7 separate regions of the Homo sapiens genome follow, and regions 2, 3, 4, 5, 6 and 7 are each linked to region 1. The links are contacts of gene promoters, found by promoter capture Hi-C in blood cells and fetal thymus (Javierre and others, 2016). All regions are on one chromosome and are shown on one strand. The core of a region is centred on a gene start or on the middle of the fragment in contact, and the rest is flanking DNA. Distances in the headings are between cores, read along the strand shown. Region 1 holds the start of FNDC3B (fibronectin type III domain containing 3B). Region 2 has its middle 7.0 kb from the start of PLD1. Region 3 overlaps FNDC3B (fibronectin type III domain containing 3B). Region 4 overlaps TMEM212 (transmembrane protein 212). Region 5 overlaps FNDC3B (fibronectin type III domain containing 3B). Region 6 has its middle 24 kb from the start of TMEM212. Region 7 overlaps FNDC3B (fibronectin type III domain containing 3B).

Evidence for each region. The method cuts DNA at HindIII sites, captures the fragments that hold promoters and counts their contacts. A CHiCAGO score of 5 or more calls a contact.
Region 2: a contact is called between a fragment that was not itself captured here and the fragment with the promoter of FNDC3B in region 1, in 5 of 17 cell types (monocytes, neutrophils, M0 macrophages and 2 more). The highest score is 7.7, in monocytes.
Region 3: a fragment that was not itself captured here is called in contact with the fragment with the promoter of FNDC3B in region 1 in 13 of 17 cell types (M2 macrophages, M1 macrophages, monocytes and 10 more); the score reaches 14.2 in M2 macrophages.
Region 4: a contact is called between a fragment that was not itself captured here and the fragment with the promoter of FNDC3B in region 1, in 2 of 17 cell types (M0 macrophages and M2 macrophages). The highest score is 6.5, in M0 macrophages.
Region 5: a fragment that was not itself captured here is called in contact with the fragment with the promoter of FNDC3B in region 1 in 4 of 17 cell types (monocytes, neutrophils, M2 macrophages and 1 more); the score reaches 10.8 in monocytes.
Region 6: a fragment that was not itself captured here is called in contact with the fragment with the promoter of FNDC3B in region 1 in 7 of 17 cell types (M2 macrophages, endothelial precursors, M0 macrophages and 4 more); the score reaches 17.1 in M2 macrophages.
Region 7: a fragment that was not itself captured here is called in contact with the fragment with the promoter of FNDC3B in region 1 in 1 of 17 cell types (monocytes); the score reaches 5.4 in monocytes.

What each region holds. Positions count from the first base shown.
Region 1 is chr3:172,038,282-172,040,867 of GRCh38, forward strand. FNDC3B (fibronectin type III domain containing 3B) reads left to right here and starts at 1,297. Exons shown (of 26, transcript NM_022763.4): 1 at 1,297-1,490. RefSeq lists enhancers at 1,117-1,784, 1,785-2,451 and silencers at 1,370-1,549, 1,690-1,789, 1,970-2,219, 2,280-2,586. The HindIII fragment of the contact is 7,479 bases long and covers 1-2,586 here.
Region 2 is chr3:171,816,178-171,818,763 of GRCh38, forward strand. No RefSeq gene overlaps it. Among named protein-coding and RNA genes, the nearest start is that of PLD1, 7.0 kb to the left of the region's middle. The HindIII fragment of the contact is 622 bases long and covers 984-1,605 here.
Region 3 is chr3:172,255,377-172,257,962 of GRCh38, forward strand. All of the region lies in intron 6 of FNDC3B (fibronectin type III domain containing 3B), which reads left to right. Among named protein-coding and RNA genes, the nearest start is that of GHSR, 190 kb to the right of the region's middle. RefSeq lists a silencer at 732-927. The HindIII fragment of the contact is 209 bases long and covers 1,211-1,419 here.
Region 4 is chr3:171,847,778-171,850,363 of GRCh38, forward strand. The region is part of intron 1 of TMEM212 (transmembrane protein 212); the gene reads left to right. Among named protein-coding and RNA genes, the nearest start is that of TMEM212, 5.7 kb to the left of the region's middle. The HindIII fragment of the contact is 9,391 bases long and covers 1-2,586 here.
Region 5 is chr3:172,231,879-172,234,464 of GRCh38, forward strand. All of the region lies in intron 4 of FNDC3B (fibronectin type III domain containing 3B), which reads left to right. Among named protein-coding and RNA genes, the nearest start is that of FNDC3B, 190 kb to the left of the region's middle. The HindIII fragment of the contact is 6,909 bases long and covers 1-2,586 here.
Region 6 is chr3:171,866,376-171,868,961 of GRCh38, forward strand. No RefSeq gene overlaps it. Among named protein-coding and RNA genes, the nearest start is that of TMEM212, 24 kb to the left of the region's middle. The HindIII fragment of the contact is 1,035 bases long and covers 788-1,822 here.
Region 7 is chr3:172,211,831-172,214,416 of GRCh38, forward strand. The region is part of intron 3 of FNDC3B (fibronectin type III domain containing 3B); the gene reads left to right. Among named protein-coding and RNA genes, the nearest start is that of FNDC3B, 170 kb to the left of the region's middle. RefSeq lists enhancers at 1,392-1,451, 1,462-1,521. The HindIII fragment of the contact is 8,301 bases long and covers 1-2,586 here.

The DNA.
Region 1 (2,586 bases), core at 47-2,546:
ACTACTGCCTACCCCCCGCCCCGGCTTCTCATGCAGGACTATGACCTAGAATTGGAGTTATGTTATAGAAAGATGGCTTCAAGTTCCCCTTTGAGGAGCTCCACAGTAAATAAGCCATTTAGGAGAGAGGTCCCCATTTCTCTGGACTCACCATTGCCTCCAAAAAAAAAAAAAAAAGGCTAAAATCTCCCCAAAAGAATGGCAAATGAACAAGGGAAGGAAGGAGCTATTTCTTAGTGTTCTTTAGACTTTAACAGAGTATTATGTACTGCTATTATTATTTTTTAGGTTAACAAAAGTAATACATTGTCTCTAGTGACTCCCTGAATGCTCCTTTGTAGCTTAATAGTTGAGGCTGAATGTAGCTATTCAGAATACCTGGACAGCTATGGATGGAAGGGGCTTCTCTAGGCTAACTTTTGCTCTCTTGTCTCCTGAATAATCTGAGGGGTGGCATGGGATGCAGTCTGTTAACCTCTTAGAGCCTGTACAACAGAAATACATTACATTTGACTTAATATGAACTCAACAGTTATTTAATGAGTCCTATTGTGGTCCTTGCACTGTGCTATATTTTACGGATATAAAGATAAAAGTAAGAAACAGTCTTTGTCCCTGAGAAACGCATTGTGAAATAAGGCTGGGTGAGTTGGCTCACGCCTGTAATCTCAACACTTTGGGAGGCCAAGGCGGGAGAATCACTTGAGCGACAGAGTTCCAGACCAGCCTGGGCAACCTATTGAGACCCCCTCTCTTCCAAAAAAGGAAAAAAAAAAAAAAAAAAAAAGGGTGCGGTGGCTCATGCCTGCCCCGTGCCTGCAGTCCCCAAAACAAACAACAACAACAACAAAAAACAAAAAACAAAAAGAAAGAGGAAAGAGAGATTTTAACTTAAGTATAATAAAAATTGCTCATACTATGTTAGTTGTATGAATAAAATGCTGTGGGAAATGTGGGAGTAATATAGCTCACAAGGTTGCTGTGGGGGTTAACAACAACAAAAAGCGAAATATATGTGTAAATGAAAAAAAGTCAGTTTTAGGCTTAATTATCACTGAGTAAACATTGCCTTTATATTACTTTGGCGATCTGCAGAACGCGCAGCCCTCGCCATTCAGGAGTTGTTAGTTCCCTAAGCCTCAGGTTTCTTTAGTCTGGCTGAACCAAAAGGAGTTTCTGCTTAGCTAGGCAGGGCCGGGGGACAACAGCTTCTGCGAGTCTGCGATTGTGGCGGCCGGTATATTCGGCGGTTTACGGTAATGGGCGGGCCCCAAATCCCCATGTGGTCCCGACATCATTGACATGGCGGAATCCCCCATCAAACCCTCCTGGTAGTTATTTGAGCGGCGGCGGCGGCGGCTGGAGGAGGAGAGCGGCGGCGGCGGGAGCAGCGAAGGGGGCGGCAGGGATCCTCCAGGCTGCCGGCTGGGAAGGCGTGGGCGACCCGGTGTGTGGCGCGCCCAGAGCCCCGCGTTTCAGCCCTAGGGAAGGTAAGGCGTGCAAGAGCCGGGGACTAGAGGAGACCGGGACCCCGAGCGCGATCGCCGGGTCCCGGTGCACTGGAAAGCCCCGGCCTGACGCCGAGTCCGCCAAAGTGCGTCCCTGTCCCGGGAGCGCCCTGGGCTTCCCGGCAAAAACTTGGCGCCGGAGTGCTGGGGCGCCCCGTGCTCGCCTGGGCACCCCGGGAACACGGGACCCGGGAGGGGGCGGCCCCCGCCTTGCTGGGCTGGGGTCCCCCGCCTGTGCCCCCTGCCTCAGGGTTTGGAGGAGTGAAAGAAACGGGTAGATTCCTCTTAAAAAAAATTGGGCAGTGGCTCGCGGCCTCCCCCCACCCCCAGCCTTCCCAGCAGATTTTGTCCGAGGAATCCGCTCCCCCTCCCGGAATCTCCGCGGCAGGAACGCTGCCCAGGAGGGGGAGGGCGGGCGGCGAGGCCGAGGAATCTTCGACGTGTCACTTTCTGAGGCTGTAGATTTCCATATGGTGGAGGGAAGAGGGCGGGAGTGCGAAGTGGGGCTGGAAGTTGGGGCCGCCTCTCCGCGCCGGCGGGGGCGGTCGGGGGCCTCGAACCCGGGGATGCTCGCGGGGAGGGTCCCGAGCCCGCGCCGGCCTGGCCCCCCCGTCCCCGGCTGGGCCTCTCCGGGACACTCCCCGCCCCGCTGCTGGCCACCTCCGAGCACGCCACGTCCTCCTCCCCGTCCTGCCCCCCGGGCTCCCCCCGGGCTGGGGGCGGTAACCGGCGGCCGCGGCCGGACTTGGCGAGCCGGCGGCTGGAAGCTCGGGCGGGGGAGCGGGGCGCGGCGGGAAGGAGCGGGCGACCCGGTGTGTGGGCCAGCGGAGCTCCGGTCAGTCGGTCACCCCGAGGGGCGCCTCGGCCGGGGATAGGGCGGGCGGGCGGAATCTGCGCCCCGAGGCGGCCAGGAGGGGCCGCGCGGACCGTCTGGTGCCCGCGGCTGGGCTGGGGCCGGCAGGCGTGGGAAGGGCCTGTCACTCTCGGCAGAAAGTGGGGCCTCGGGCTGTGCCCGCGAACTTTCCCAGAGGTCCGGGTCCCGGCGTCCCGTGGGAACCGGAGGACCCGGGCCCGCCGT
Region 2 (2,586 bases), core at 45-2,544, 220 kb before region 1:
CACTCACACTAAACTGTTGCTGGTATCGTTTTTCACACTTGTACAATCTGTTGCCTTAAAGGTGCACTTTTAAACTCATGCCTTAGGCTAGTTTGTAAGGCCAGTCAAGACACCCTTACCCCACACCCCACATAAAGCAAAAGAATTTCTCAGAAACGTCTCAGCTTCAGTGGCCCTCAGGGTGTTCCTGGGAATCAGAACTCCCCTGTAGGAAAAAATATGTGTATGTGGAACAATCTGTTAGTTGACATGCTGACCCTGAATTACAGAACCTCTGCCCAAAAATGGGATTCTTCTATCCTTATAACAACAAAAAATCAGGCAAGAAATTTCAGAATTATAGACCCTTAACATTAAAATACATTGGAAAAGACCCTTGCCAGTCAAGAATACTGCAATTCTTTATTCATCTCCTATTCAGTGCTGGTACTTGCATAACTCCACAAGCTCCAAAACTCCTAGGATCAGATGAATTTATCATATTCAGAATTCTATGGATTTCAGAAACTATATACAATTCATATAGCATATATTATGTAATACCCCTGACGAGGTCTAGGGCTGCACCCCACAGTTAAACACCCTCATATTTCTGCAGCAAAAGATGTGAATAGGCATATCGCATGGAAAAATAGACTGTAAACAGCTTCAGATCAATTCAGATCAGGTTTTGCTGCCAAGTGAGTCACAAATAAAACTTTTGGTTTTCAGAAATTTTGGATTTTAGAATTATGAATAGGTGATCATGGACCTGAATTAAAACAGAATTGAGTAAACTCTGCAGATAAGCAAGAACTCTTTAAGAAGACTTTTCTACCACAACCAATTCATCCAGTGTCTTAGAGATCAATATTTTTTGTCAACTAATCAGAAGCATTGCATTTTTCTATTTTTAACAATTATATGTAACAAATAGATTCAAAACCCACTTGAGAGTCATTGTTGGGAAGACTTTTTAACTGAATTAGAAATGTCTATTTCCAAGCTTTTTAAAGTGAGCAGATATGAGAAGTTTTATAGATGATACGTACTTTCAGAAGTCAATCAGTTAAGAAGGAAGCACTGCAAAAGGCCTGCTTTCAGAATGCCGTCACCATAGCCTCAGTTGCCTTCAAAAGTGGAAACTCTCTAATTTGTTATTAAAGTGACACTTTTATTTTGAAGAGACAAGGCTAATTTCTTTTTAAAATTCTGCTTTACTACCATAGAATTGGCAGATACTTGTTATCATAGAAAAGACAGAATGTAAAGCACTAGTGTTTTTAGAAAATAAGAATAAGAAAATAAATTTGACAACTATGAAACATACTCTGGCATGATATAACCAGTGTTCTCATCCGTGATACAGCATGTTTTCATAATCACTCATCATCTCTGCAGAGAACAGTGAACAGTTTACTACAAATGCCTGTCTTTGATAATATTATCTATATGTGTTAGTCAGGGTTCTCCAGATAAACAGAACCAATAGGATATACAGAGAGATATATAAAATAGGAATTTACATTAGGAATTCGCTTGCACAATTGTGGAGACTGAGAAGTCCCACAGTCCCCACTCTGTAAGCTAGAGGCCCAAGAAAGCTGGTGATACCATTCCAGTCCAAGCTTGAAGGCTGAAGAACCAGGGGGAGCTAATGGGGTATGTCACAGTCCAAGTTCCAAGGCCTGAGAACAAAGAGTGCAGATGTCCTAAGGCAGGAGAAGATGAATGTCCCAGCTCAAAGAGAGTAAATTCATGTTTCCTCAGCCTTTTTGTTCTTTTGGGGAGCTCAATTGATTGTACGATGCTCAACCAAGTTGGCAAGGGTGATCTTCTTTACTCAATCTATGGATTCATATGCTAATCTCTCCCAGAAACACCCTCACTAACATATCCAAAAATAATGTTTTATCAGCTATCTGGGCATCCCCTAGTCCAATCAAGTTGACACATAAAATTAACCATCAACTACATCAACAAAATCTTACAGCAAATTTGTGCACTTCTAGCTTCAACTTCTTTGCTACAAGAACATTTTGGTTTTTTATTAAAAGCAGTGAATAAATTTATTTTTGGAGCTATCTCTGTACCCTTATCCTAGAATTCAAGTTTTATTCCAGTCAAAGCAGCTGTTCCATCAGTGCACTGAGACAGTTTTTTTTCCATAAAACATTGTTTTTATAGTGGAAATCATGTGCACTGGAAATATATTTTTCTTCTTCAATACATCGCTCTTTTTTGCTCAGTTGCTCTCAGCCCTATCAGAACAACACACCTTTTTATTTTTGCATTGTCTTCTTTGTCATCTGGAAATGAAATTAATTCCTAATTTCAAAAATACATAAAATACACTGACAATAAATAAAAGAGAAATAAGAGAAAATAAATTATAACAAAATAGAATGTCTCTTAATATGTAAAATTCTTGAAGAAACCACACTAAAGACATAATAAAGGGGTTAGATGTTTGTACTATCTATGATGAATATACTTAAGAGTATAACAGGGTCCAGGCATGGTGGCTCATGCCTGTAATCCCAGCACTTTGGGAGGCCGAGGAGGGTGGATCACTTGAGGCTAAGAGTTCAAGACCAGCCTGGCCAA
Region 3 (2,586 bases), core at 65-2,564, 220 kb after region 1:
TTCTGCCTCAGCCTCCCGAGTAGCTAGGATTACAGGCGCACACCACCATGCTTGGCTAACTTTTTGCATTTTTAGTAGAGATGGCGTTTCACCATGTTGGCCAGGCTTGTTTTGAACTCCTGACCTCAGGTGATTCACCCACCTCGGCCTCCCAAAGTGCTGGGATGACAAGCGTGAGCCACTGCGTCTGGCAAATTTTTTTGTATTCTTAGTAAAGGCGGGGTTTTGCCATGTTGGCCAGGCTGGCCTTGACTCCTGGTCTCCAACTCCTGGCCTCAGCCTCCCAAAGTGTTGGGATTACAGGCGTGAGCCACTGTGCCTGGACACTTCCAGGCTCTTTTAAGAAAGGTTGCCACTGGGTAGAAACGTACAGATACCTTGGGGTCCTCTCTGGTGGAATTGGTACCAGATCTCACACATCTCCTCGTCACCTCGTCCTAGGGCACTTCCAGCTCTGAGTGAGAAAGAACTCTGGTGCACAGCCTCTTGGGACTTCCTTTCTCATGGTCCCTGGTGTCTCCTCATACGTTTCTTAGGATTTTCTTTGCTCCCTCTGAACCTTAAGAGACTGCCCAGAAGGGCCACCTTATGGTTTAAGATGTGTGATTATTCATTTTCCTCTCCAGTGCATCCTCTCTTGTGACTACAGTTAAATAGATCTCAACATTTTAATTCCTTCCTTGAGAACCTTTGTGGTGCTCCCCACTGTCTAGAGAATAAAGTCTAAACTGCATGATATGACACATACTCACCTCTTGTGGCCCTTCACATTTCCCCACCAGACATGCGGTGTTCTGCCCCATTTTGTGAATATGCCTCATTCCCCTTTTTTGGCCTGTCCTTCCAGTTCCTCTGCCTAGCAAACTCCAACTCAGGCCTTCAAGAGCCAGCTCAGTTATCACCTCCTCTGTGAAGCCTGCCTGTCTCTCCAACATATTATGATGGCAGATAAGTTAAGGGAAAATATTTCAAGAGTTTTTGCCTTCCTTTTCTCTTCCTCTCCCAGCATTTCATTTTAGAACAGTGCTTGGGCATCCAGTCCACAGATGTTCAAGGACAGGAATGGAAAAATTTGTTCTTGTGTACGGAGTATTATGCAAGAGCTGGGCCTTGAGCCTGTTCTGTGGCCAAAACCCAGTTAAAATAGTCACATTGCCTTTCACTGCAGAAGCTAAAGAAGTTTCTGTTGCTCTTCATTGAGTGAGAAGGAAGCTTCATTTCTTCCATTTTATTCTTGATAAAAAAACCAAAGCACACAATATTTTAAGGAAGTTATTGAGTGGGATACAGTGAGTCAGGATCCAGTTTTCTAACTGAAATCCTTCAATTTTCAGCCAGTTATAGCCCCTCAGAAAGCAGTTAGGTTATCTGCTAATATTGTTATAGAAATAATTAGGTGAATTTAGAGTAAAAAACAAAAGCTTTGATGAGGATCCACTGTTTAATTTTAAAAGACCTAAGTAGTCTCAATAATATGTATGTGTGTGTGTTTGTGTGTATATGTGGGCAGATGGTGAAGGGAGAGGAAATCAAGAGTGTAAAGTCACAATTTCCAAACTTTTTTTTTTTTTTGAGACAGAATCTGGCTCTGTCGCCCAGGCTGGAGTGCGGTGGCGCAATTTCGGCTCACTGAGACCTCCACCTCCCAGGTTATAAGCAATTCTCCTGGGATTACAGGCACCTGCCACCATGCCTGGCTAATTTTTGTATTTTTAGTGGAGATGGGGTTTCGCCATGATGGCCAGGCTGGTCTTGAACTCCTGACCTCAGGTGATCCACCCACTTCAGCCTTCCAAAGTGCTGGGATTACAGGTGTGAGCCACTGCGCCTGGCCTCCAAACACTTTTTTATGTATAAAAATTTGCTGTGTGCAGTTGACATTGTTGACTTTCACTTTGTTCCTGGGGCTTACCCTAAGAGTGAGGATGTCTTTTTCATATATGACTTTTACATTTTAAAAACAGAATGGAATTGTAAGATTTTAAATAATCGGCGTTCTGGACTGTGTGACATAGAACATGTCATTTCACTAAGCCGTGGTTTCCCTTTCAGTAAAATGAACAGGTGAGTTACAGTCAGTGATTTTCAAAATCTTATCAATGAGCACATTGCCTCTCTTTTCAGGCAATCTTGTGTGGATTACCAGTTTTAAATACAGTATCCCTTCACCCCTACCACATCACACGCATTCATACACACACACACACACACACACACACACACACACACACACGCACTCTGAAAGCAGACAGCACTAGAACTCCAGTGGTTTGAGTGGAGGACCTGGGTCCTTGTCACCCTCCACAAGGCTTTCCCAGGGATCCAGCCCTCACCTGGGTCCTGGCTACTCATGGGCTCAGACCAGCAGTATCAGTACCATCTAGAAGCTTGTGAGACATGTACCCTTATGACCTGCCCCAGACCTACTGAATACAGGCTGTGTAGGTGGGGCCCACCAATCTATGTTTCATCAGGCACTCCAGGTAATAATAAGCCACAGTAGCATTTGAGAACTGCTGGCTCTTTGAGTGCCAAGCAATTTTTAACCAAGATTTTAAATGGCAGGGGTGGGAAAGCGGCGGGTGG
Region 4 (2,586 bases), core at 50-2,549, 190 kb before region 1:
ACGGTGGGGATGGGGGAGGAGGAGAAATCTGACTAGTTATAGAGGGTGATCAGATATTGAGACTAGGGGGGGTTCTTGCTAAACTGACTCATCAGCAGCAGGGTTCTTGTGCTCAAACTGGATTTTACAAGAAAGTACACAGATGGGCCTAGGAGAAGGTTCAGGAACCTGACTAAAGTTTGATCAAGCAAATAATCTATGTCAATGGTCCATTTTTCCACTTAGATATCCTAAGCTGCTTTAAGGCCAACTTGTCTAAAACCAAATTAATCATCTTGTCACCAAAACCATTTTTTTTCTTCTCCAACTTCCCTGTCATTGTCTTGGTAACTCAATTCCAAATACTGGAGTGATTTTGACTCAACCTGTTCCTCTAAACTATCCCTTCTCAAACTGTAACGTGCATACAAATCATTAGCAGATCTTGATGAGATGCAGGTTCTAATTCAGCAGGTCTGGGGTGGGGCCTGAGAGTCTGCATGTCTAATGAGTTCCCAGAGGATGCCCATGCTGCTGGTCCTAGGACCACACTGCAGGCAGCAATGCCCTACAGCCTAACACCAACCCTACTCTAATCAGTTGCCATGTAACTTTAATTTTTCCTACAAGGCATACCCCTATGCATTCCTTCCTTTTCCATCTCACTCTATACCCCCTTACCACTTGCCATCACTTCTCAGATTTTATGCCTAGGTAACTTTGATAGCCAAACTGTGGGAATCTATCCATTAGTGAATTATAAAATCAATCTATTGAGTAGCTAGCAGTATTTACAATAAATGCATAGAATAGAATAGAATAGGATAGAATAGAATAGAATAGAATAGAATAGAACAGAGGAGAACAGAGTAGAGTGGAGTGGAGTGGAGTGGAGTGGAATGGAATAGATAATATTAGAATGCACCACATTTTTTATATCTGACCAAAATTTGTATATCTTTTATATGCATCATAATGCATATGATGCATAATGATGGTTACATATTATTTTGGTCAGATATAAAAATATTTATAACTATGACATAAAATGTATTCGTTATTGTGGCTAGAGTTGAAAAAATAAATCTGAAGACCAGGGTTCTACAGAGATGTCTAGGCCTCCCCGTATTCCAATCTAGTGTGCACACAACTGGCTCATCTTTCTAAACCCCTTCAGTAGTCAGGCTACAGGTCCTTCAAAAATCTTTCACGTTGCTTCATTGTCCCTAAACAAAGTTCAGACGTGCTAGACTGCATTGTGAGGTCCTTCTCACCCTGGTATTACCTGGCTTTCAATCCTGATTTTCTACTCTTCTCTGCCAAGAACTGGCCCTCCTTTCAGTGTGGACTCCTCACTCCCTGCTCCCTAAGCATGGCAGCCACTTCCCCACCTTTGCACATGCTGCTCCCACAGACTGAGCTGCCCTCCCTCTGTCACCTCCCATTGAAATCACATCCATCCTTAAACCCACTTCAGATCCTATTTCTCCATGGTGCCTTTATCATCGATGTTTCCCCTGTAAGTGATACCTTATCTCTGAGCTCTTCTCATGCAGAAAACATTCATCCTTCTTGCCTAGTGTTGTAGCCATTCTCGTGTGTGCATTATTTTTACACCTGAACTGTAAATTCCAGCGGCAGTCAGAACCACTATTTGTACAATTACTATTTGGGGATCTTGTTCATCTTATTTAGCCTTTCTGTGCCTCATTTTAAAAGTGGGAGGATATCTACATGATAAGGTCATTGTGAGGATTAAATGAGTTAACACATGTGAAGTGTTCAACATATATTAAACACTCACTCAATACATGTTAACATTTATTATTACTTTATCAGCACAGTACCTAGCACATTGCTTGTTTGCAGTAGACTCATAACAGATGCTTGTAAGTGAATAAATTAACCATATTAATATGATACCTCTTAAAGTTTCTATTTCTATTGTGAGGGCTCCCTGCTTCCTTCAATTCATCTACTTCTGGGAACTACGTCCTCTACTTAGGCAATTTAAAGATTTAGTGGGAGGGTTCACAATGATCATGCAATCAAAGTGTTAGCAGTAATTGTTGCAAAACCCAGCTGATATCCCTGGAAGCGCCCAGAAAGCAAGGCAGCAGCATGTCAAGGAGAGCTGAGGGAGGCGAGTGCAGGATGGGGGCCCTCTCTTCTTTCCCCACTCACTGCCAGACACAGCCTCCACTCTCCCCTTCCTCATAACCTGGCCTCCTCTTCAGCCAACTATTCCCCCCTCAGACACTCCCTCTCTCACATTTTCTCTTCCCCTTGACTTGTCCTGCCTACCCTCAAATCTCTTCCTTTTTCATTCTTTTCTCCTCCCTATCTAAAAATATAATTTTCAAGAAGAAATGGAAGAAAGAAAAGGGGAAGTCTGCGCATCTTGGGGAAAATAGCCCTATTCTATCTCCCATGTCTGGCGGGGAGCACCAATAAAGATGGGTGCGCTAACCTCTTGAGCTGCCTTTCAATTTGCAGGGTGGATTTAACAAGTTACTGAAGGCATTCATACTCAGCCTACTGCATGAAAGATCTTTTTCAAAGTTTTATGTAAACAAAGCAAAATTCAAGCTGGCAGCTACAAAAATA
Region 5 (2,586 bases), core at 56-2,555, 190 kb after region 1:
GTTTTTTTTTTTTTTTTTTTGAGATGGAGTCTTGCTCTGACGCCCAGGCTGGTGTGCAGTGGCATGATCTTGGCTCACTGCAACCTCTGCCTCCTGGGTTCAAGCAATTCTCGTGCCTCAGCCTCCCAAGGAGGTGGGATTACAGGCGCGCATCACCATGCCTGGCTAATTTTTATATTTTTAGCGGAGATGGGGTTTCATAATGTTGGTCAGGCTGGTCTCAAACTCCTGACTTCAAGTGATTCACCTGCCTCAGCCTCCCAAAGTGCTGGGATTACAGGTGTGAGCCACCACACCCTGCCAGTATGGTCTTTAATTGTAAGAAAATTGAAGAGGGAGGCAAGTAAATCAAGATTTTATGGTAATAACTCTAATCTGATTGAATAGAGAAGTTCTTGATTATAGCAGATTTGTTGTATAATTAAATAGCCGAAAGTCCTTTAAAGATAAATTAATAAAATTGGTCAAATCTGACAAAATACAAATGTCAGTAATAAGCAGATAATAAACTCCTGAAGTTTAACAGACAGCTGTGGAGGTGCAATCAACAGCACGAGCTTTGTTTTCTTAGGTTGAGAAGGGCTGAATTGGTGGACCTTACAGATAACTGTGGACTTAGGGTGCAAAAACAGTGGAATCCTGTCATTTCAGCTTGGTGGTTTCTCTGATATAGTAGGTTGGGGGATGTGGTGTGTTTTGTGCCTTATTTTTTAGTGGGATGAGAGGTAGAGGGATTCTTTTCAACTTGAGAGAAAATATAGACCTTTTTTTAAACTATGAGAAAGTGGATTTAGGTAAGTGGGAATTTAATCTTATCACAGTCATCATCTCCATTATGTAAAAGCACTTGTGAGTGTGATTAGAGTTGAAACTGAAGGAGAACATGGACGTTACCTGGAGAGGCCTTTCTTCAGATTCCATCTTGGCTACTTTCTGTGTAACTTTGATAAATTATTTCACCACATATGTGAACACCTACTTGACGTGGTAGAGGTAAGAATTAGGAGAAATGTTATGTGAGGTGTGGCACTCAGTAAGTAGTAGCTACTACAATGAAAAAGACTGTTACAACAGTTCCAATGGAAGTTTGGCAGAGCTTGCCCTCCTAAATACATATTGAAATCACATGGTGTGAAGGAAAATTTTCCTTCCATTGTATACTGGCCATGGCTCTCTGTTTTTTAACCTCACCATTAACTTTCTGAATAATTTATATGTAAAAATTTCTTAAGCAGATGCTTTGAGTTTTATTTTCCATGCTTCCGTAGTAATTTATGATACATTTGCTCAAATGTTATAGGGAAAACTTCATATTGACCCAAGGATTTAAAAAGCATATGAAGAGAAAAAGTGAAACCTCCAAGTTAATGTTCTATCATTTGGGAAACCACTCTTCTTTTTCCAGATTAACTGTTGTAATCCCAAAAGTTAGTAGTCAAAATAAATATTTTTGTTGTGAGAGCAGAAACAACAAAAATACCGCATTGGATTATTTTGGGGATTAATTAATGGGTCAGTACCTGTTGAAATTATATATATTTCATTTCCCTTAGCCAGGGAAAGACAAGAAATGTATTGAAAAATATATTTGAATTTTGGTTTGGTTGGTCATTTGCCAATGATGAGTGGAGAGCTGGCCAGAAAGCAGACACCTCTGTGGAGAAACAGTGGGGCCTGTTAGGTGGAAGCTGTGCAATACTTTCCCCCCATTTCGCTTAGCCAAGCCAGCTGAGCTATAGACATTAGCCTCAACTGCTTCCCTTTGGTAATTACAGCTGGGGATTAAACCACTGCTTTGTTTCACCTTCAACGTTGTGAAAATGATAACAGAAAGGCACATGGGGGACTGCCCTATGCCCTGAGAAACTGAGATTCAGACCCATTTGGTGGCCAATAAGGAGAATTGGATTCTCTTTCAACACTCTTGGTCCTTCAGAGGAACTGATTTCTCTATAGGAAGTTAGGGAATTGTTCCATAGTGTACATTGTGTGCATGGGGGTTGGTATTGTGTTCCATGGAAAACAGCATAGTACTTAGATATTTCGTTTCAGTTATCAATGGATTTGAAGCAATTTTATTTTTTATCTTGTGGCTTATTTTGTCCAAGGAGCAATTACAGACAGGGTTGGCAATGCTAAATTAAAGAAATGTACCAAGGACATCCCCTCCCCTCAAAGTATTGTGCAGTTTCGTCTTTCTGAGCCTTCTCCCTGTTCTGCATTTTCTCTTTGATTTCTTTCCTTTGTTTCTGTGATCCCGGCATCGTGACATAATAGAACATGGGATTAGTGGGAGGAAACGAGGGCCCAAGCGAGGCTCTACATCCAACTCTCTGTGTGATTTTAGGAATATTAAGTGATTTATTTGGGTGTGTCACTTGTTTACTTGATCATTGTCTGTCTTCCTTTTAGCATTTAAGTCCACAAAGGCAGGGACCTTGTGTGTCCTGTTCAGTCCTGTTCATCACTTGATCTCTAGTTCCTTGAAAGGTACCCAGCACATAATAGGCATTTATCAAAATTTGGCTATCTGGCTGGAGTGATTTTTATCTCATGGAGGGAAGCGGAGAGAGGAAAGTGTTTCAG
Region 6 (2,586 bases), core at 55-2,554, 170 kb before region 1:
TTGCTCCTCAACATTTATTGGGTATATATTATGTGCCTGATATCTAGCTAAAGGTTAGAGACAGAAATATGAGCAAGACACATCCTGCCTGCCATTGACTTACAGGGATTAAAGGGAAATGAGGCTTGGGCCAGGAGGACCAAGAGAACAGATGAAGAATAACAGGATCTGAATTAGTCAGCAACAGTGGGTATGGAGAGGAGGTGATACCTTTTTTTTTTTTTTTTTTTTTTTTTGAGACAGAGTCTGGCTCTGTCGTCCAGGCTGGAGTGCAGTGGCGCAATCTTGGCTTACTGCAAGCTGCGCCCCCCGGGTTCACGCCATTCTGCTGCCTCAGCCTCTAGAGTAGCCGGGACTACAGGCGCCCGCCACCACGCCTGGCTAATTTTTTGTATTTTTTAGTAGAGAGAGGGTTTCACTGTGTTAGCCAGGATGGTCTCGATCTCCTGACCTCGTGATCTGCCCGCCTCAGCCTCCCAAAGTGCTGGGATTACAGGAGTGAGCCACCGCGCCCAGCCGAGGTGATACCTTTGAGAGACATTTAGAAGGTAGACTCCACAGGACTTGGTAACAGCACATGGGACAGGAGAGGAACCCAGAAAGATGCTAAAAGTTTCAGGCCTATAAGAGACCCAGACAAAGTGATTGGATTTAATGCGGGTCACACTCTTGTCACTGAGGGTAAATACTCAGTTTCACATCTCATCATTAATCAAAAGGCATTGTAAGAACTTAGTAGAGGAAATTAGAGGCCTCCTGCCTACCACTCTAGACAAAGAGGTACGGAAGCTTTTCCTGAATACTCTCCAGTTAATCCTGGTCACATATCGGATACAAATGATACCTTGCTTTGAATTTATAATAAATCTAGCACTGAATGGTGTGGACTATAAGACAGTTTTAATCTAGGCCAATTTTATTTACAACTAATTTCTGCTTTTCTTTTATTAAATCTCCCATGGCAAACAGTGTTACCTTCTCTGTGAGGCTTTTCTTCTTTCAACCATCCCCGGACAGAACAGATCACTTCTTCCTTTGTGCCAGCATTGCAGTCTATGGCAGATCCCTAATAGTACACCCTTATCATGTTCTTGATATATTGCTTCTTGACCAATTTCAAACTTTTTGAGGGCAGACAGCATGACAGTTCAACTCTGATGTGTAGCCCCCAGCATAAGGCCTGATTTAAAAAGAAAAATACAATCTGATTAACTGTCAAGTGAACTAATGCTTTTTTTTTTTTTTTTTTTTTTTTTTTTTTTTTTTTGAGACGGAGTCTCTGCTGCCCAGGCTGGAGTGCAGTGGTGTGATCTCGGTTCGCTGCAACCTCTGCCTGCTGGATTCAAACGATTTTCCTGCCTCAGCCTCCCGAGTAGATGGGACTACAGGCACGCACCACCACACTTGGCTAATTTTTGTGTGTTGTTTTTTTTTTTTAGTAGAGATGGGGTTTCACCATATTGCACAGGCTGGTCTCAAACTCCTGACCTCGTGATCCACCTGCCTCGGCCTCCCAAAGTGCTGGAATTACAGGTGTGAGCCACCGCGCCCAGCTGCCAATGCTTCTTTATTGCCTTTTCTCATGTGGGCCTCAGTTTGGAAGAAAGAAATTAAGAACTTAGAGGTCTTGCAAATAATATATTGAAAACTTCAGGAAAATACCTAAGCAAGATTAACAACAGGGATTTTCACAGATTAAGCATTGAGTAACTAAAAGCCAAGGCCATTGCACTGCACAACTCCGGAGACCACCGATCTCATTAGTCTATGAAAATGGCACCACAACAATTTGAACAGCGCCCCCTAGAGTTACGTAATATGAAGCTTTGCTAGTTGGTCAAGAAGCCTAGGCTTAATTTTAACGGACTGAGCCATCCACTTCCTTTTCAGGGTCTTGGTTAACTCATCTATAAAACAAAGTGGACTAGACCAGTATTTCCTATCATTCTGTGGTTTAAAGCCCCTTTCATAATAATAATCTCATAAAAACTCTCAGCTAAAAAATTGCATCATTTTATTATGGTACAAAGTTGTTTTAAAAGATTGTAACACAAAATTTAATATAATATTTATAATATTCATAATATAGTTAGGTAAATTTGTACTTTTTCCATTTAACAAGTACCATTCTATTTAATTAAGATTAAACTGAATATGTCATAAAAACATGATTTTTTGGACAAATGTTATAGTTAACATTGTGTTATGTTTAGGATTTTGTATACTTTAGGAGGCCAAAGTATACTAAACTTTAGAATTACATTTAACTATGTGTTACACTCAATCAAAAATCAACTAAAATATATTATATGATTTAAGGTTTGTAATTATTACATCTGATTTGTTTTATAAATAAACAAATAGGGATATGAGAAAAAGTATCAAGTTAGTATTTGTGGGCATTTCTTTGCGAATAGCACCTTGCTGATATTGCTAGACTTCAGTGACAATGAATGAAAAACTGAATCAGGCCGGGCACGGTGACTGACGACTGTAATCCCAGCACTTTGGGAGGCCTGACTGAGGTCAGGAGTTCAAGAGCAGCCTGGCCAACATGGAGAAACCCCATCTCTACTAAAAATACAA
Region 7 (2,586 bases), core at 53-2,552, 170 kb after region 1:
AAACTTCAAGCATTAAATGGGGAATTGGTCTGGATGACTGTTAAGATCCCCAAGAGAATTCCAATTCTTTGATCTTAGCTGTCAATTAAAGATGTTTATAAATGTTTTATCAGCTGTTCTACCTACTTCCTTATTCTTAGATGTATACTATTTCATATTAAACGATCACCAGGGACCATTAATCATATAAATAAACAGCAATAATTGCATAGACTGATTCTTCATAGAGTGCTTATTATCCTATATTATATAAAATCCTGTGATCATTTTGTTGTTGCCATGGAAGTAAAACAGTGGTTGCTTTATTATGACTAAAGCTGGGGGACTATTTTTAGCCAAATTATAGTCATCTTTGCCAGCTGAAGCATATTCAATTAAATATCCATTAATAGGATAAAGTTTATGGAACTCTGTTAATGACTCTTTTTCCCTCTTTACTTTTAAACATTGTGATGAAATTAAAACTTAGCTAATTGGACTCAAGGTAACTACAAATGAGATGTGCTTCAAGGATCTTGAATGAGCCTGTTTTTTTCTACTTTCTATTTATTTTTTACCGCGTTCTTTCCAAGTCATTCTTCTGAACTGGTCCGTAGCACATCTGCATCAAAACCAGTGATCAGGGATGGCCTGAGGAAGTTGGGCTGCTTGTGGGGAGAAGCAGACTCTGAAGGCCTGGAAATCTACATTTTCAAAAAGGCCTAGAAATTTTGACGTAGCACATTTGAGGATGATAGCAGGAAGAATTTAGAAATTGTCAGCTAACACCTGTTTTCTAGAATCTGCAAGCACAGACCTACGTGACACCAGTACCACCACTACCACCCAGCATATTACTCTAGAAGGAAGCACAGAAATTATCAGGTTTCTTCTCTTTTACTTTGTATCATGAACAATTAAGTAACTTGCCCAGGGCCATACAGACTGAATCCCATATCTCCACTGAGCCATTTGGTTTTGATGGGGATGGACTGAAGAGAAGAACTTTAAAAAATACTATTGGAAAGCTGAAATGGACCAGTGACCAGCCTCTGGATTCCTGTGATTTGTATCAGTTACCGTTTTGAATATCATGCATATGCTATGGTCACAGATCTCTTAATGTATCACGAGGACAGTTGGAAAACAATTCAGTTGAGATTAATTGGGTACATGTATTTTCTGGTTGTGGCTTTTCTGCCTTGTTTGTAGTTTACACACCAATCCATGAAATTATTTCCTTCCTTTTTCTTTTTCTTCCATGTTAGGTATCTGTCTGGTTCCTCCCTTCTTTTTCAAAGAGAGGATCAGCTTTCTGCCCCAGATCCTTCTTTCTCCTTATCTGTTCTCCACTTGATTTTAGTAACATTTCTGTGCAGACAGCCTAACAGACCTGACCTCAGATCTGTGGCCAGAAAATTTTTACTCAAATACTTTGACAGTGTTTTACTCATCTAAAAGTGAATGTGATCCCTAGACAAGTATGAGGCCAAAGGTGCGTCTCATTGGACCTCAGGCCATGTGAGCATACGCACATGGGAACATGGGGATTCTTTTACAGTTTAAGTCATGGGGAAGACAAGTCATAAACCACAGTGGTTTCTCAAAGGCAGTGATAGAGATAAGGTGATGAAGAAACTCCTATCTTCTCAGTATTCACAGTTTTGTCTGAGTAGGGATGTCTGGAAAAGGGAGGAGTATAATCCTAAAGTTTTGCCTTGAAGGGATTTATGAGTTGCTCATATTTATATATCATGCATATCATTTGTTTGTGCTCATACTCTTGCTTAACCAGTGATAGTACTATATGCAAAACTCCCCATTTTGATGTAGTCTTGTTTTTAGTGATTACCTGGTAATTTTGCCTTCTCCCCATTCTTACCTATCCTAATACGGCCTCGGTTTTTTAGCCTTTCCAGATTAGCAAACCCCAAAGGCTTAGTAGTTGTTTTGAGGAGCTAACTTTAAAATGTATCTGTTCTTGTTGCTTTTTCAGCTCAGGATAAACAGCAGTGAATCAGTTAGGAGACCTTTCTGGTAGCCTGTTACCCCAAATGTAGACCCTTGATTTTGATTTGTCTCAGGCCCCCTTAGTAGTAGATGAAGGGTTGGTTTTTGAAAGTGAAATTGTAGCTTGTTTAGTAAAAATTGCTTGTTTCTGTGGAGGCAATGTGCCAAAATTAGAAGCATCTATGGTGCCGCGCCATAAAGCAGTCTGGTGCCTCTCAAACAATAACTTTGTCAGTTCATTTTTATGGCTGAGAAAATAGCAGTCTAGGTGACCAACTTTCCCACAATTGCTTGGGGGTGTTTACTGACTGCCCTTGATCAGACGCCAAACACTTCAGAGGTAAGAGAGCCTAACCTATTTGTAGTTGTTGTTTACCCTCAGCCCTTAGCCTGCCCTTTGTTTTTCACTTACAAACAAAAGAGTAAAATCAACAGGCTGGTCTGTAAGAACTCTCATTTACTTTCCGGACCCCTTCTGTGTGGTTTAGGTAAGGCAGAGACTGGAACTATATACATCAAACTAATCATCTCACAGCCCATTATTAGGTCCCAGCTGCCGGACAACTTAGAGGATTTTTATTAACAATCAAGACACTT